Regions from separate parts of the Homo sapiens genome. Here region 2 is linked to region 1. Evidence: promoter capture Hi-C in human tissues and cell types (Jung and others, 2019). All regions are on one chromosome and are shown on one strand. The core of a region is centred on a gene start or on the middle of the fragment in contact, and the rest is flanking DNA. Distances in the headings are between cores, read along the strand shown. Region 1 holds the start of RRH (retinal pigment epithelium-derived rhodopsin homolog). Region 2 has its middle 3.7 kb from the start of MCUB.

Evidence for each region. Contacts are between HindIII fragments. The study calls those that stand out against the background at their distance.
Region 2: a fragment that was not itself captured here is called in contact with the fragment with the promoter of RRH in region 1 in 1 of the 25 tissues and cell types used here (lymphoblastoid cells).

The regions. Positions count from the first base shown.
Region 1 is chr4:109,825,525-109,830,431 of GRCh38, forward strand. It overlaps RRH (retinal pigment epithelium-derived rhodopsin homolog), which reads left to right and starts at 2,448. Exons shown (of 7, transcript NM_006583.5): 1 at 2,448-2,609. The coding sequence starts at 2,504. The HindIII fragment of the contact is 8,882 bases long and covers 1,354-4,907 here.
Region 2 is chr4:109,554,119-109,558,963 of GRCh38, forward strand. It overlaps the pseudogene SETP20 and the pseudogene CDC42P4. Among named protein-coding and RNA genes, the nearest start is that of MCUB, 3.7 kb to the right of the region's middle. The HindIII fragment of the contact is 3,956 bases long and covers 915-4,845 here.

The DNA.
Region 1 (4,907 bases), core at 1,198-3,697:
TTCTGATTGATGGAATTGCAGCAGGATGAATAAATACATAGGCCATTAATATATATGATGAGCAAATGTGTTGAAAATTACAGTTTTTACAGGAATAGGCAGTTATGCTTTTACAGCTTAGGACAGGAGATTATTTGATTTGGAATTGTGGTGATGAAATTTTCATGGAGTGTTAGGGCCAGGGCTTTTGCTCGTGGTTTGGAAAAGATGTTAGTAAGCACCAAAGGGTGATGGCATTGTCCCAAGGACAAATAATAATAGCGCAACATTTCTACAGTTTGTTTTTTTAACATTAAAAATAAATCTAAAATGGCAATAATGGAAATAACATATAGATCAGTAGACAAACCAGTTGGAAATTTTACCGTTTAGCTTATGTATATCTTTTTTTCATTGTCCATCTTTAAGCTTTTATTTCCACATCTTTTCCTTTTTTTTCCTTATAGTTTCTGGGTTTATTTATTTGTTTATTTATTATTATTATTTTTTGAGACGGAGTTTTGTTCTTGTTGCCCAGGCTGGAGTGCAATGGTGCAATGTCGGCTCACTGCAACCTCTACCTCCCGGGTTCAAGCGATTCTCCTGCCTCAGCCTCCCAAGTAGCTGGGATTACAGGCATGCGCCACCATGCCCGGCTAATTTTGTATTTTTAGTAGAGATGGGGTTTCTCCATGTTGGTCAGGCTGGTCTCGAATTCCTGACCTCAGGTGATCCGCCTGCTTTGGCCTCCCAAAGTGCTGGGATTACAGGTGTGAGCCACTGCGCCTGGCCTAGTTTCTGGGTTTTTTTGAGGCATTTCATTTTGAATCAAATTCACATGTATTTCTAAGCCTTATCCCAATATAGCTTTTCTGTATCACCCATGAAGGAAGCATAAAAAAGAACTTCAAATGCACCTACCTCACTCATATCAAAACTTTCATCTGCAGCAGAAAGCTGACTATCTGAAATTATATATTTTTCAGTTCTTAGAAATAATTATTTCTGGAAAATTTTTCATGGATGCTACAACTAGGTATAACTTATTACAGAAAAGGAAGGTAGTATGACCCAAAGCAAATTCAAAAATTTTAAGTTTTGTTTTGCATATTGAATGAAAGAAAAGACAAAGACTTTTTAAAGGGAGTGATTTCCTCTTGGGTATTATGTTTTTTGCTCTAGGGTCATTTGAAAACAATACTGACGAGATTCGCTTTTCTAGTATAGGTATAACAATATTACATTTATAAAAATGTGAGTACTGGTAGCTATAAGATTTGGGACAGATAAATCAACCTGTTCATCTTGAGTTTATACACAGGCAAGAGAACTGAAGCAAAAGGATTATCTTAGGTTTCTGCTGTGCCATTCTAGGATTTTTATAAAATTAAACTAAGTGGGTAAATATAGCCCTCTAGTGGTTCTGTTTTATGCTTACACTGTTAACTTTGGTGCATCTAAGCATTTCTCTAATGTTTACTGATTTTAGGAAACTGAGGAGAATCAGATTTTAATAATGTTAATGGCATAAAGAATATGGGAAAAAAGGTAATAGGGATACCTTATTATTCTAACAAAACATGCTCAGGTTGGTTTTCAGGTTGTAATGTGATAATCCAGAATATTTTTATTCTGTACTTTACAATATCAGTGATTGAATTCAGATACTCTGGCAAAGTATACAATGATTACTATCATCAGATAATATTAATTACTCATGTGCATATCAAACTATAGGGGAAATTAACGGATGGTGGAGTTGATCATATTATATCCATGCTATGAAATACATAGCTACTAATAAATTAGACTTTATTAGATTCTGGGTTTATTAACTTGGATATTATAATACAGCCTTATGGGAAAACAAGTTGCATTATATATATACATTTGTACTTATTTTTTTCCCTCATTTTTATTTACAAGAAGAAAGTGGAGGAAACCTGAAACACTTGTATGAATATGTGTATAAGCAGAGAAAAGCCTAAGAAAGGATATGCACCAAACAATACTGGTACCTTTAGGAGAGTGAGATTTGGAAGTAGGAAGGAGACTACTTCTTTGTCACTAATATTTAAATTGTTAAGAAAAAAAAAACAACAAAAGGAGCCGAAATGGAAAGACTTGAATGGTCAACAGAAAACAGGGACCTTAATCCGAATAGTTTTAGAGGACTAAGGCTGGCTCCTATACTGATTTCCTGAGTTTGTTTATTGTTAAATGGGATGTGTGTGCTTGATAATCTCCTTAGATAGAAGACTGATGCCCAAATAGGTTAAAATGTGTGGTGCTTGGTATTTCTTTTTGTTTTGCTAATAAGCTTTTCCCTTATTCTGGGAATTAAAGTCCTTTCCTCTTTAGCCCAATTAAATTTGTTAAGGGAGGGCCTCTATGAAAAGGCCCTTCTTTGAGGTCTCTAAGTGGAAATGATTGGTCCTAAAAAATCTTTCCTCAGTAGCTCATAAAGCAGTTCATAATTATCGAAGGCTTATTATGAAGGGTGTTTCGGTATCTTCCCTCCAAAATGCTAAGAAATAATTTAGGCAACAGTTCAGACTCTAAAAATGAAGATGGCTCGGTCTTTTCACAGACTGAACACAATATTGTTGCAACTTACTTGATTATGGCAGGTATGGATATTTAAGTAAGTTATTTTTCTTTAGAATGGGTGAAGAAAGGCAGAAGTTTTCAGCATAAGGCATGCATTGTTTCAAGTTCCATATTATTGGCCAACCTTGACAAGTCATTTATCCTGACTTGGCTTGCTCGTTGGTAAATGAGGATGATGATACTCTATTTCTGGGCTGTAAAGATCAAATAAGATAATGTGGGTGAAAGAATAAGGGAAAGCATTGTTAGTGATGGCCATTGCCACAGGTTATTTTGAATTTTGGTAAATAAGAGCAGTGAAGTGGGGCTGAGAAAAGTTTTCTATGTGATAAATAGTTCTTTCATAAAAATCTATGTATTTGATTATTGGATTGTTAAAGTTTTTATTGGAGAAGAGTATGCACCATGGCAAAAACATATTTTTATGTCATTTACTATTCTTATACATAACCCTCATATTTTTGTTCTTGGTGGTAGAATTTAGCTAAGAACTTAAAGGTTCTGGAAAGAAAAAGTCCTAAGAAGACAGAGCAGGGTATATTGTCATTGAGGACAGAGTCTGAAAATTCAGCTTGTTCCAGAATGCTTATTGGAAAACTCTTGAGTTTTGGATTTCATCTTTTAGTATATTTGCAACTGTGAGCATGTATCTTCCCTTTTTGTTCTTCCATTTTCTCATCTGTAAAACAAGGATAAGAATAAGTTATCTGTCATGATTGTTATAAGGAGTAAAATTAAGTGACACATAAATGCCATATAGTAGGTGTTGGACAAATATTTGTTTCTTTTTCCCTTTCCTCCCTACACACTCATTGATGTAAAGGATTGTTTGCAGAAAAAAAGGGATGGGGGAATGACAGAAACTTTTTATCTTTTTAATGTATCATTGAATTGTGTAACTTTTATATTGAGCAATCACTTAATTTTCAACTTTATACTCTAACGAGTTGTAGAAGTAACTCTTATATTGAGTTCATTATTTTTTGGATTGACTTTTATAAAAATTTTCAAACATTCAAAAGTAGAGTGAAAAGTATAACACACCATCCTATACCCAGTTTATAATTGTTTACGTTTCTTCCTTATAATTCAGCGTATTACTTCTAGTACTGGAAATTGAGTTCCTCAGTTAAGTTTTGCGATTTTAGTGACGTTATCTCGTTCATTTGAATACCTCTATGATAAGTACTAGACAAGTTCTAGTTTTTTTGTAATTGCAAAAAAGACTGAGAAAATCTCCTAACAATTACATGGAAATACTTTGTATACAAGTGTTTGGTTTAGTTAGTTATTTGTAGATGACCAAAAAAAAAAAAAATCCAAAAAACAACCAAAACTATCCTTTTTTGACCTGGTTACAAAATTAGCATGCAGAAAATATTCTATTTAGTTCTTATCTCTGTAACAGTAATAATAATAGTAATCTTACTACTACTGCTACTAATGTTATCATTTGAATACTTGCTATATACCAAGCACTGTTCTAAAACCTTACACATACAGAATAATTCATCCTTACACTAATTTAGTAAGTTACTCTTCAGTTTTATTTCTCTAGTTTATACAGATGAAGAGCTTAAGAAACTTGTCCAGCACACACATTTACTAAGCAGCTACACCAGGATTTGAACCCAGGCATTTTGGTTCTAGAGCCCTCACATATAAATCCAAGAGTCAGCTTTATCAAGGTATACAATGAGTGTGTGTTGTTTGTGTTTCTGGTGGATCCACTGAAGGAAGCATAGCTGAACTCTTTATGCTTTTGTTCTGCCCCTGTATCAAGCATCTATTTTTCTTTAGATCCCCTAACTTTCCTCCTTTAACAAAACTCACTTAAAGTTGCAAATCAAAACCAAAACTATGAGGAAAGGGTGTAGTGAAAGCATTTATTTCATTCGTTACTTTTACCAAGGGCCTATTTAGATTTTTTATTTAATTTTTAATTTGATCTTTCATTTATAGTTTGGCTCCTATAAACTGTTACAACTTCCAGTGCAACAGACATTTTGTTAATTTAGTGTCCTTGAGCACTCTCCCTTTCCCCAGTTAAGGCTGGGAGGTAAGAGGACATGGTGAATTTGAGGATCTGAAATAAATCATTATGTTTGAACTGTAAAATGAAGGGTGAGAGGTTGAAAAAGATGGCTGAGTACCAGACAGTGATGAGCCGTGTAAGTTTTAAAGGTGACAGGGAGTCACTGAAGGGTTTGAAATGGGAGTGACATGATCTGATTTGTGTTTTAGAAATGTGCTATAGTGGTAGCTAAGGGACCACATAGGAGGCCATTGCAGTGATTCTGAGGAGGGAGTAATCGCAG
Region 2 (4,845 bases), core at 1,643-4,142, 270 kb before region 1:
GACCACCAGTCTCCTTGCTCAGGCAGAAAACTCCAATTTCTTATATTTAATTTCATGAACATAGCTTATATGTTAGCAAGTTTAAGGTCATTTTTGAGATTCCCTTTGAGGCCCACCATGTGGGCATTACATTGTGAATCATCCATATGTGTTTGAAATAATGTGTACTCTCATTTGGGTACAGAGTTCTTTAATACTCTATTAGCAATGGAGGTCCAGGACCTGGAGACAGAATAGGGAAAGGAATATCCTTCTCTATTTACCATTAAAATTCTATCAAAGTGGGAGGCCCAATGGATAACAGGAGTATTCCTGGAAGCCATTCCTACGTGGGCATGGCTAGCAATATCTTAACAATACATAGAAATGACCATGAACCACACAAAAATATCCCACTAAACCCAAAGTAAATGTATCTCCAGCTCAGCTTGCTCTTTGCTTCCTAGAGAGACAGAAAGTAGATTAGTAGTTGCCTGGGGCTGGAGGTAAGAATGGAGAGTGAGGCAAATGAGCCTGAGGAATCTTTCTAGAGTGATGGAAATGTTCTAATTGATTGTGGTGACTGTTGCACAACTCTGTAAATTTGCCAAAAATAACTTTTAATAAATGAAAGTTACGATATGTAGATCATACCTTAATAGAGCTGTTTACAAAGTTTTTTTTTTTTTGAAAAGCGAGATCAGAGATTCGAATGTGAAAAGGCTGTGACATATAAGTAATACTTATGAACTAGCTCACATTGAGTAATCGTTTTGTCTCATCAAGAGTCCTATATACTGTGGGAAAGTTTGTTGTGCACCCGAAACATCTATGTGTGCCGAGCGACTTTGTGGACAGTGCCTCCCCGGTAAACCCGCTCTGTCTGCAGTGTCCGGAGCTTCTCCCACAGGAGTTTGCTAATCCCACCTTTGTGGCCAGATTCTGTGCTGCAAAACGGACATCTCCTCCCCCTCTTCTCCATTCCCCTCCTTCCTAATAAGACTCTTTTCTGGAGAACTGAGGTCAACATCAGATTTCAAATATTTAAAGTGGATACAAAACTATTTCAGCAATGCAGACAATTAGTTGCATTGTTGTGGTCAATGCAGTTGTTGGTAAAACATGTCTCCTGATATCCTACACAACAAATTTCCATCCTAATAGATACAGACTGTTTTTGACAACTATGCACTCACAGTTAGGACTGGTGCAGAGCCATATACTCTTAGACTTTTAATTCTGCAGGGCAAGAAGATTATGACAGACTATAACTCCTGAGTTATCTACACAGATATATTTCTAGTCTGTTTCTCAGTGGTCTCTCCATGTTCATTTTAAAGTATGAAAGAAAAGTGAGGGCCTGAGATAACTCACCACTGTCCAAAGGCTCCTTTCTTGCTTGTCACAACCCAAATTGATCTCAGAGGGTCTATTATTGAGAAAATTACCAAGAACAAATAGAAGCCTATCACTCCAGAGACTGCTGAAAAGCCGGCCCACAACCTGAAGGCTGTCAAGTATATGGACGGTCCTGTACCCACACAGCAAGATCTAAAGAATGGATTTGACAAAGCAATATTGGCTGTCCTGGAGCCTCCAGAACTGAAGAAGAGCTGGAAGCCTATGCTGCTATGAACATCTCTCCAGAGCCCTTTCTGCACAGCTGGTGTAGGCATCATACTAAAAGCAATGTTTAAATCAAACAAAAGATTAAAAATTAAAATTCATTTATGCAATAATGACAAATACCCTGCACCAACCCACATGCATCCATGTGAGACAGGGATTAGAGGTATGGCCCACTTCTCCCTCCCAATACTAGTTAATTCTGAGTAATTGTGTATTGTTAGAAAAGTGATCAGTACTCATTTTTGGTTTTTGTTTCAAAAAACAATTTTGTTTTTACTTAAAAGCAAGGCATGCTTGTGATGACTGTGTAACAGACTAATTGGAATTGTTGAAGCTGCTCCCTGGGTCCATTCTGGAGGGTAATCTGGGACATCTTAGTGGGGTTTTATTTTTTTCTTTTTTGGAGGAGGAGTGTTTGTAGGGTTTGTTTTTTAGTCTTTTTTCTTTTCTTTTCTTTTCTCTTTTTTAATTCATTAACCAGTGGTCAGTCCTTAAGAGGAGAAGGACGGATTGACTCCATATTCGACTTCCTAAATCTAGTTTAAAAAACATGTTCCCTATCTGGGGTGCTTTTAGGAAAGAATATAGTAAATGCCTTATTTAATAACATACCTCTTTTTGAAAGTTACCTTTTCTCTCCACCCTTGAGTAGGCTCAGTATTTGATGAAACTCATGAAAGTGGGTGAAAATTCTCTTGCCCCTGTTCTTTTCTGGGATGCACTAAATATGTGACTGTGACTTTCAAGGAAATTTGTTTGCCGGTTGCTGATTTTTGGGGAAGTTAATTTCTAACTTCTTTAACTGATGAATAAAGAAAAGTATTGCACCTTTGAAATGCAACAAGTGGATTGAGTTTGTAACTTAAAAAAACTTTTTTCCCTGTCAGTCATTGTCTTATATTATTATAGATTTGCAATCAATAGTATATGATGTTTCTAGAATGCAGCTGAAGACCTGGTATGTAGAGGCAATGTGAAGAGCGGTAGCAGAAGACCGACATCTATGGAATGATTCACAGCCTCTCAAGTTATAAGGATGGAGACCTGCTTCATGAAGAAGTTGGGGTGTGGTGGGGATGGATAGAACACTTAACAACATGAGATCAGTCAGGGGAATCTCCTCACTTCTGTGTAGCAGACGAGGAACCCAAGAGCCCCCAAATGAGGCTCTCTGGTTTGTTTTTTTTTTTGAGATGGAGTCTTGCTCTGTCGCCCAGGCTGGAGTGTAGTGGCACAACCTCGGCTCACTGCAACCTCTGCCTCCCCGGGGTCAAGCAATTCTCCTCCCTTAGCCTCCCGAGTAGCCAGGACTACAGGCACGTTCCACCACGCCCGGCTAATTTTTGTATTCTTAGTAGAGACAGGGTTTCACCAATGTTGGCCAGGCTGGTCTTGAACTCCTGATCTTGTGATCCGCCCGTCTTGGCCTCCCAAAGTGCTGGGATTACAGGCATGAGCCACCACGCCTGGCTGGCTCTCTGGTTTAATAAAAATTGTGTAAAGAATCTTATTGAAAGGTGACAATGTGCTGGCGGCCCTCGCTGGCTCTCAGCGCCTCCTTGGCCTCAGAGTCCGCTCTGGCCATGCTTGAGGAGCCCTTCAGCCCGCTGCTGCACTGTGGGAGCCCCTCTCCAGGCTTGCGGAAGCTGGTACCAGCTCCCTCTGCTTGCAGGGAGGTTGAGGGAGAGACGCGGGTGGGAACCGGGGCTGCATGTGGCCTTGCGGGACAGCGCGAGTTCCGGGTGGGCGTGGGCTCCGTGGCCCCGCACTCGGAGGGCGGCCGGCACCCCCGGCCCGGGCAGTGAAGGGCTTAGCACCTGGGCCAGCAGCTGCAGAGGGGGGCGTCAGGTCCCCCAGCACTGCCAGCCGGCCCGCGCCACGCTCAAATTCTCACCAGGCCTCAGCCACCTCCCCATGGGGCAGGGCTCGGATCTGCAGCCCGCCATGTGCAAGTCCCCCCGCGGTGGGCTTCTGCTAGGCCCTAGCCTCCCTGAGGGGCACCGCCCCTGCCTCAGCGGCGTCCAGTCCCATTGACTGCCCAAGGGCTGCTGAGTGCAGGCACGAGGCACGAGCGCAGGACTGGCAAGCAGCTCAGCCCGCAACCCTGGCATGGCATCCACTAGGGGAAGCCAACTGGGCTCCTGAGAGGGGTGGGGACTTGGAGAACTTTTATGTCTAGTTAGAGGATTGTAAATGCACCAATCAGCACTCTGTCTAGCTAAAGGTTTGTAAATGCACCAATCAGTGCTCTGTGTCTAGCTCAGGGTTCGTGGATGCACCAATCAGCACTCTGTATCTAGCTAATCTCCTGGGGACTTGGAGAACCTTTATGTCTAGCTAAAGGATTGTAAACACACCAATCAGCACCCTGTGTCTAGCTCAAGGTTTGTAAATGCACCAATCAGTGCTCCGTGTCTAGCTAATCTAGTGGGGACTTGGGGAACCTTTATATCCAGTTAAAGGATTGTAAATACACCAATCAGCACTCTGTATCTAGCTCAGGGATTGTAGACACATCAATCAGCACCCTGTCAAAACGGACCAATCAGCGCTCTGTAAAATGGACCAATCAGCAGGATGTGGGTGGGGCCAGATGGGGGAATAAAAGCAGGCTGCCAGAGCCAGCAGTGGCAACCTGTCTGGGTCCCGTGCCACGCTCTAGAAGCTTTGTTCTTTTGTTGTTTGCAATAAATCTTGCTGCTGCTCACTCTTTGGGTCTGCACTGCCTTTATGATCTGTAACACTCACCGTGAAGGTTTGCAGCTTCATTTCTGAGGCCAGTGAGACCCGAACCCACTGGGAGGAATGAACAACTCCGGACGCGCCACCTTAAGAGCTGTAACACTCACTGCCAAGGTCTGCAGCTTCACTCCTGAAGCCAGCGAAACCACTGAACCCACCAGGAGGAAGAAACTCCAAACATGTCCGAACATCAGAAAGAACAAACTCCGGACACGCTACCTTTAAGAACTGTAACACTCACCACCAGGGTCCGCGGCTTCATTCTTGAAGTCAGTGAGACCAAGAACCCACCAATTCAGGACACATTATCAAGATTCTTCACAAATGTTAATAGGGATTTTTATCAGTTTTAGTTGTAGTTTCCAATTTCTAAAAATGTTCAGGTAATTTTTTTACACCTTTCAGAACCTAGCTCATGAGTGTTGAATCAATGCTTTTTCATGTCAATTCTTTGTATAGGCATTCTTTTCAGTTGTATTAAACAAGAACCCTTCA